Regions from separate parts of the Homo sapiens genome. Here region 1 is linked to region 2. The links are contacts of gene promoters, found by promoter capture Hi-C in blood cells and fetal thymus (Javierre and others, 2016). All regions are on one chromosome and are shown on one strand. Each heading gives the region's core, a stretch centred on a gene start or on the middle of the fragment in contact. The rest is flanking DNA. Distances are from core to core; before and after follow the strand shown. Region 1 holds the start of ABHD3 (abhydrolase domain containing 3, phospholipase). Region 2 holds the start of ESCO1 (establishment of sister chromatid cohesion N-acetyltransferase 1).

Region 1 (3,500 bases), core at 813-3,312, 100 kb before region 2:
GAGGCTTGCCCCGCAGGAGCCCACAGTGGGGCGGGGGGTGCGGCTCAGGCATGGCGGGCTGCAGGTCCTGAGCCCTGCCCCGTGGGGAGGCAGCTGAGGCCCAGCAAGAATTCCAGTGCAGCGCTGGCGGGCTGGCACTGCTGGTGGACCCGGGGCACCCTCCACAGCTGCTGGTCTGGGTGCTAAGCCCCTCACTGGCCAGGGCCGGCGGTGCCAGCCGGCGCTCAGAGTGCAGGGCCCGCCGAGCCCACACCCACCCGGAACTCCCGCTGGCCCGTGATCGCGGGGCACAGCAGCCCCGGTTCCCGCCCACGCCTCTCTCTCCACACCTCCCTGCAAGCAGAGGGAGCTGGCTCCGGCCTCAGCCAGCCCAGAGAGGGGCTCCCACAGTGCAGCAGCGGGCTGAAGGGCTCCTCAAACGCGGCCAGAGTGGATGCCCTGGCCTGAGGAGGTGCTGAGAGCGAGCGAGGGCTGCTAGCACGTTGTCACCTCTCACCAGCACTTTGGGAGGCCGAGGCGAGTGGATCAGGAGTTCCAGACCAGCCTGGTCAACATGGTGAAACCCTGTCTCTACTGAAAATACAAGATTAGCTGGGTGTGGTTGTGCATGCCTGTAATCCCAGGTACTCGGGAGGCTGAGGCAGGAGAATCACGTGAACCCGGGAGGTGGAGGTTGCAGTGACCCGAGATCTCGCCATTGCACTCCAGCCTGGGCAACAAGAGCAAAACTCTGTCTCAAAAAACAAAACAAAACAAAACAGAACAAACTTAAACTGAAATACGCATGCATTTATTGGTAGGTAGTGCAGAAGGCTGGTGCAGGGGTTATGAAGAATGCTATGAAGTTTCAAGTATGGCAACCAGCATATGCATTCACGTTTGCTATGTGTGCTCAGGTGTGAGAGCCAGAGCGTGAAAATTACTTCTGCTCACGGGGAGTCCAGTATATACACTATCTTGTCCTCTCGGGAACTCTATAAAGTAGAAATTGTTACGCTACAGATTATTAAAACAAGAAAAAAACAGGCTCAGTAAAGGTAATTGAATTATTTTGGGTGCTGCAGCCAACCACCAAGTTGCAATGACCAAATCGGAGCCAAATAAATTGCTCACTTCTGGTCCGTCTCATGTCCCCATCTAAATTACATCATTAATTTACAATCCTTTGGCATTTTTCATAATCTAGACAGCACTTTCCCTTCTTTCGTCTGTTTAAGTCTTGCCATTCTTCCTACCTCTCTGAGGAAGGAGTTCATAAGAGTAGGAATAGGCTATTAAATTCTAACCATTTCAGATAACCATAAGTATCCTGATTTATCATATTGCCATAAATAAGCCTAGGAGACCCTACTTCATAAATGGTTTCTTGTCTGTACATTAGGTAATCGGTGTGAATTTCCATAAGTCTCTAAATTCAAAGCATTAATGAACCACAAATAGGCTTTTAACAATTGAATCCCGGTTGCTATTCTTGACCTTTTCATTTATTTTCAGAGACCACTTCTCATTTAAGTGACACTTAGCAACTAAAAAGATTCACAGAGTGATTCAGAGTCGAGTATGATGTCCTCACTGTTGAATGCTCATAGAATATTTTTTCTCTTTCCATAGTCTTGAGGACCAACGCAAACGTCTAGAGGATGTGGGATTCTTACCTGCTAACATATCTTTGGCATTAACTCCCCAAATCTTTGAATGCAAGGCACGCTTACCTGACACCCTAAACTGCTAGTTTAGGGACACCCGCCGCAGAGCGGAATCGTTCAAGGTCACTGGGGCTGCAGGTGCGGGGCCTTAACCAGCGCTGCCGATCCGTCAGCTCTCGGCCCACCCTTGGGGATCCCCATCGCCCACTGCGACCTAGCTGGGAGAACCCAGTCCGCCCGCCCTCCCGGTGGCCGGTCTTGGAACCGCGCTTCTGGAAGGTTCCTGAGTGGCTGGCAGTGGGGGCGGCTCCAGGAAGCCGGGGCGGAGCGGGCGGCGTTGGAGTCTCGGGCTACGCCTCCCTGGGCCGCTCCGCCCCGCCCGTTGTCGGAAGCCGCGCTCCGCCAGGCAGGAGACACTGTGGTCGGGAGTAGGCAGCGGCGCCGCGTCCGCTCTCGCCCGCTCTCGCCCGCTCGCCAGCCGGCTCTCCTCCCGCCGCAGGACCCGCGCGCCGCGCTCGGGGGCCATGCAGCGCCTGGCCATGGACCTGCGGATGTTGTCCCGGGAGCTCTCCCTCTACCTGGAACACCAAGTCCGGGTGGGGTTCTTCGGCTCGGGGGTGGGCTTATCCCTTATCCTGGGCTTCAGCGTCGCTTATGCCTTCTACTACCTGAGCAGCATTGCCAAGGTGAGCCGGGGGTGGCGCAGGGCCGCGGGCTGCTGGGCCAGGAGCTAGGGTAGCAGGCGCGGCGCGAGGCTGCGCGGCCAGGGGCGGTCGGCAGCCCCGGGGATAGGCGGCGAGCTGCTCCCGAGCGGCAGCCCCCAGCGCGCGCGGGAAAGCCAACAGGCCCCGCCCGTTCGCCCGCCCCCTGGGGGTCCCGGCCGGGTGGTCCTCGGAGCGCAGCCTGAACCCGGCTGACTTCTGCGCTGCGGCGCTGCCCGGTCACCGATCGCGAAGCCGGCGGCGCACTCGGGAACGCCGTGGCGCTTTTGAAAATGACTCCGGGCAGGGCACGGTGGCTCACGCCTGTAATCTCAGCACTTTGGGAGCCCGAGGCGGGTGGATCACCTGAGGTCAAGAGTTCGAGACCAGCCTGACCAAAATGGTGAAACCCCGTTACAATTACAAAAAATTAGCCGGGCGTGGTGGCGGACGCCTGCAATCCCAGCTACTCGGGAGGCTGAGGCAGGAGAATCCCCTGAACCCGGGAGGCGGAGTTAAAAACAAACAAACTCCCTTATCGCGATTCTCGCCTTCCCCTCGGGGCATTGGCGAAACCCCCGTTTCAGTCCTCTGTGACTGTGAATTTTTTGCGTCAGCCCTCCAGAAAGAGTTGTAATCGGAGGAAGCGCGCGCGCGAGCGACAAGTCTTTGCCGGTTTCTGGTTTACGGTTGGCAGAAACTTTGCTCTGGGCCCTTCTCTGATACTGCTTTTCCCTTCAGAAACCCCAGTTAGTGACCGGGGGTGAGAGTTTCAGCCGCTTCCTTCAAGACCACTGTCCCGTGGTTACAGAAACGTACTACCCGACGGTCTGGTGCTGGGAGGGTCGAGGACAGACCCTGCTTAGACCTTTCATCACTTCGAAGCCCCCGGTGCAGTACAGGAAGTAAGTGAATTTCCGTTTTCAGTCATTTCTGCAAAATCACAGGTTGTTTGTTTGCTTGCTTGCTTATTCCCAGTTCTTGGTTAATAGAATCTGCTTTAGGAAGTATATAGAACAGAAAGAGGGAATGAAAATGGAAGGTACGTCCCCGGCTCCACCCCCAGCTGCAGGAAAATACCCCAGCTGCAGGTATTTGCCTCCTGGTCCCCGCCCTAACCGCCAACCTGATGTAAATGGTTTATTTTTAGGAT
Region 2 (3,701 bases), core at 131-2,630:
TTAGCCGGGCATGGTGGCAGGCACCTGTAGTCCCAGCTACTCAGGAGGCTGAGGCAGGAGAATTCCTTGAACCTGGGAGGCGGAGGTTGCAGTGAGCCGAGATCGTGCCATTGCACTCTAGCCTGGGTGACAAGAGTGAGACTCCATCTCAAAAAAAAAAAAAAAAATTAGCCTGGCATGGTGTCGTGGGCTTCATACATGCAGTTCTCAGGGAGGCTGAGGCAGGTGGGATCGCTTGAGCCCAAGTCGAGGCTGCAGTGAGCCGTTACTGTGCCACTGCACACCAGCCAGGGCTACACAGCAAGATCCTTCCTGTCACAAAAGAAAGAAGTGTGGGAACCATGAATCCTAGTGATAGAATCTTGGATTCTATCTCTAGAGGCGTCCAAGAGCGAGCCAAAGCTTTGTCTGAACACTCAGTCTGACTAAGTCTAGCAGAATATTTTACAATTTCTGATGATTCTTGCACTCTGATACACAGGAAGAAAGTGTGCAAGGAGAGGGCGAAGCCCTGCATTTTTTGGAGGTGCTGGAGGGCAGTGTAGGGACTGCACCCTCCTTTTTTTTTTATTTGAGACAGGGTCTCACTCGTCCAGACTAGAGTGCAGTGGCCCAGTCTCAGCTCACCACAACCTCCGCCTCCCAGGCTCAAGGGATTCTCCCGCCTCAGCCTCTCGAGTAGCTGGGATTACAGTCGCACGCCACTACCACCCGGCTAATTTTTGTATTTCTAGTAGAGACGGGGTTTCACCATGTTGGCCATGTTGGCCAGGCTGGTCTCGAACTCCTAACCTCAAATGATCCACCCGCCTCTGCTTCCCAAAGTGCTGGGATTACAGGCGTGAACCACCGCGCCCGGCCCCACCCTCCTTCTTTACATTGGCTCATATGGAAGACCAAAGGCACTTGGATTATACATCGCAGACAGAAGCAGCCAAAACCTACATGGCAACCAGTTGCGACAAATTTCCAAGGTAAACCACAACCGCTGGGGGCCTGGGTGGTTTTCAGCTCAAAGCGATGACCCCAGGAACGACAAGCGGCCGCCGCTAGGGGGCGCCGCCACTTCCCTGCCAGGCGACCACCCGCGGAGGCGCGCGCGCTAGGCCTCCCACCGCGCCTGCGCTGAGGATGGACACTAGCTCGCCTTTCCTCGACGCCCAGCCGTCCGGGCCGGGGTGAAAAACTGCGTGACACGCAGTGAGCGTGGCGGCCATCTTCGTCTTCTGGGCACGTCAGCTGAGCCGGTTAGGGCTGAAGAGGAGCGTTGCGCAAGCGCACCCAAGACGGTCACAGGTAACTCCCATCTGACGAGCGAGGCGTCGCCGTCGTCGCCGGAAGTTTGGTGTTTGCGCCGCGGGGGAGGCGGCGGCCGCAGCAGAAGCAGCTGAGTGTCTCCTGATACCCGGATGTGAGGCGATCCGCTGGCGCTAGTCTGACCCTCCGCCAGGCAAAAGGAAGGTACGCGAGCGTCCCTGACGGTCCCCGCCGCCTGTGTCTTCACCTCTCTTTTGCCAGCCCCTTCAGGGAGCGGACAGTTCTCCCTCTTCCTGTTCCACCCTCGGTGGCGTGTTGCCTCGCACGCCCCTTCCTACTGCTCCGGTCCCAGCTCTTCGCGCCCCTGGGAGGGAGGTGGGAGGCTCTAGGCTCCAAGACGCCGTCGCTTGAGGTAGGCAGCTAACGTGCTCGCGTGTCCGCGCACCACCTGCCGCTGTTTGCTGGGCGGTCGAAGTTCATAAGGGGTCGTGACCGCCGACGGGGCAGGGCCGGAGTTCCCAGCACTGCCGCGAGGGCTCCGGGAGCCCCGAGGTGGCGCGCAGCCATTGCTAGCACCGGGGCAGCGCCAGTGCTGGTCCCGCAGGTAGCTCCGGGCCCCGTCTCCGCCCCCTGCGTTTTCTCTTCCCGGCGCTTCACCGGAGCCAGTCCCTCGCCGCCTCCTGGCGCAACCCGCTGACCCGGCCTGAGCCTGGAGGCCTCTGCAGTTTGCGGGGCGCGATGTGGGGTCTTGGTTTTACAGCCTTCAGTTTGGGAGGGGAGCGGGCCCAAGGTCATAGAGTAACTCATGCTGCAAATGGGGGTCTCGGCACAGGTAGGGCGGCTCTGGAGTAGAAATGAGTGCATTGAGGGCCGCAGTGAAGTTTATAGCGATGGAGAGAGGCGAACCAAAGAGAATTGGGTCCTCGATTTTTATCACGGGTTAAGATTATTTTACTATGGGGGTTTATTTTGCACAGGCAGAATGGGATAGCAAGTCCAACAATTCGAAGACTACCTCCTCTCCCTCCGCCTCTCAATGATGCGTCCGAAAATCCGGCGTGTGCTTTATTTTCCGGGGCGATGGGGACGCAGCGGGGACCAGGGGAGGGAGGAAGAGGAGGAGGAAGGAGCTCAAGCTTTGCGATTTGAGAAGTACTATGAACCATGTTTTCTGTAGTCTTAGCTGCAATGAGATTCCTTTAAACAGGAATCGCAGCACACAGTATCTAGATAGTATTACAAAACGATATCTCAATAAATAAGCTTCGCAGGAAACAAAAGCGCTACTTGGTGGCATAAGGTGTGGTTAGTCCCCCCACCAGCATTGGCTTTTTTAAAAAAGTGGATAAAACATAGATTTCAGTTGAAAACATCCAGGTTGCAGTGAACTATGCTATATTCACTTTGTCTTCTGGTCAAGTACTTAGTTTCTGCTTTACACAGGACACCAACACGAATAAAGTTTTAAGTTATTATTTTATTTTGAGACGGGGTCTCGCTCTGTCGCCCAGACTGGATTGCAGTGGTGTAATCACTGTTCACTGCAGCCTTGACCTCCCTCCCCGGCCCCAAGCAATCCTCCCACCTCCGCCTCCCTGAGTGGCTGAGACTACAGGCGTCCGCTACCATGTTAGGCTAAGTTTTCTATTTGTTGTTGAGACGGCGTTTCGCCATGTTGCCCAGGCTGGTCTCGAACTCCTGGGATCAAGTGATCACCTGGGCCTCCAAAAGTGCTGGGATTACAGGCCTGAGCCACTGTGCCTGGTGAATTTTTTTTTTTTTTTGAAAAGCAAAAAATCTAATCAATGGAATTAGACATGGGAGTAGGATGAGAAGTGCTTTAAAACGTGCTTAATTTGGAAGTCGCAAATTCAGGCCTAGAGCATGTGAGGAAATGAGGAAACTAGGACTGTAATAGAGCCACTTTTTCCCTTTTAGGCAGAATGCAGAGTATCACTGTTGGGTCAGATATGTGACTTTGGAAGCACAATTCCAAAATTTGTCCTGGCTTACGAGCTAGAACTCCTTTATCATTGCTAACTGAGGAAAATATGCTATTGTCTCACCTTTCTCAATCAATATTATAATCCTGTAGTGAACAAGTAATTGTTTGTTTTTTTTTTTTGAGATGGAGTCTCACTCTGTCGTCCGGGCTGGAGGGCAGTGGCGAGATCTCGGCTCACTGCAATCTCCGCCTCCTGGGTTCAAGTGATTCTCCTGCCTCGGCCTCCCGAGTAGCTGGGATTACAGACAAGTGCCACCATGCCCGGCTAATTTTTTTGTATTTTTAGTAGAGATAGGGTTTCACCGTGTTGGCCAGGCTGGTCTTGAACTCCTGACCTCAGGTGATCCGCCTGCCTCGGCCTCCCAAAGTGCTGGGATTACAGGCGTGAGCCACCATGCCCGGCCAAGTAATTTTTTTAATGTCCGTCCCATACAAGGTG

What was found. The method cuts DNA at HindIII sites, captures the fragments that hold promoters and counts their contacts. A CHiCAGO score of 5 or more calls a contact.
Region 1: the fragment with the promoter of ABHD3 here is called in contact with the fragment with the promoter of ESCO1 in region 2 in 13 of 17 cell types (monocytes, activated CD4 T cells, naive CD8 T cells and 10 more); the score reaches 8.3 in monocytes.

The regions. Positions count from the first base shown.
Region 1 is chr18:21,703,336-21,706,835 of GRCh38, reverse strand. It overlaps ABHD3 (abhydrolase domain containing 3, phospholipase), which reads left to right and starts at 2,062. Exons shown (of 9, transcript NM_138340.5): 1 at 2,062-2,332; 2 at 3,089-3,252. The coding sequence starts at 2,171. It also overlaps a transcript of MIB1 not described here. RefSeq lists enhancers at 1,655-1,724, 3,185-3,334 and a silencer at 1,895-2,664. The HindIII fragment of the contact is 12,122 bases long and covers 1-3,500 here.
Region 2 is chr18:21,598,383-21,602,083 of GRCh38, reverse strand. It overlaps ESCO1 (establishment of sister chromatid cohesion N-acetyltransferase 1), which reads left to right and starts at 1,380. Exons shown (of 12, transcript NM_052911.3): 1 at 1,380-1,461. RefSeq lists enhancers at 1,155-1,674, 2,742-3,036. The HindIII fragment of the contact is 1,991 bases long and covers 405-2,395 here.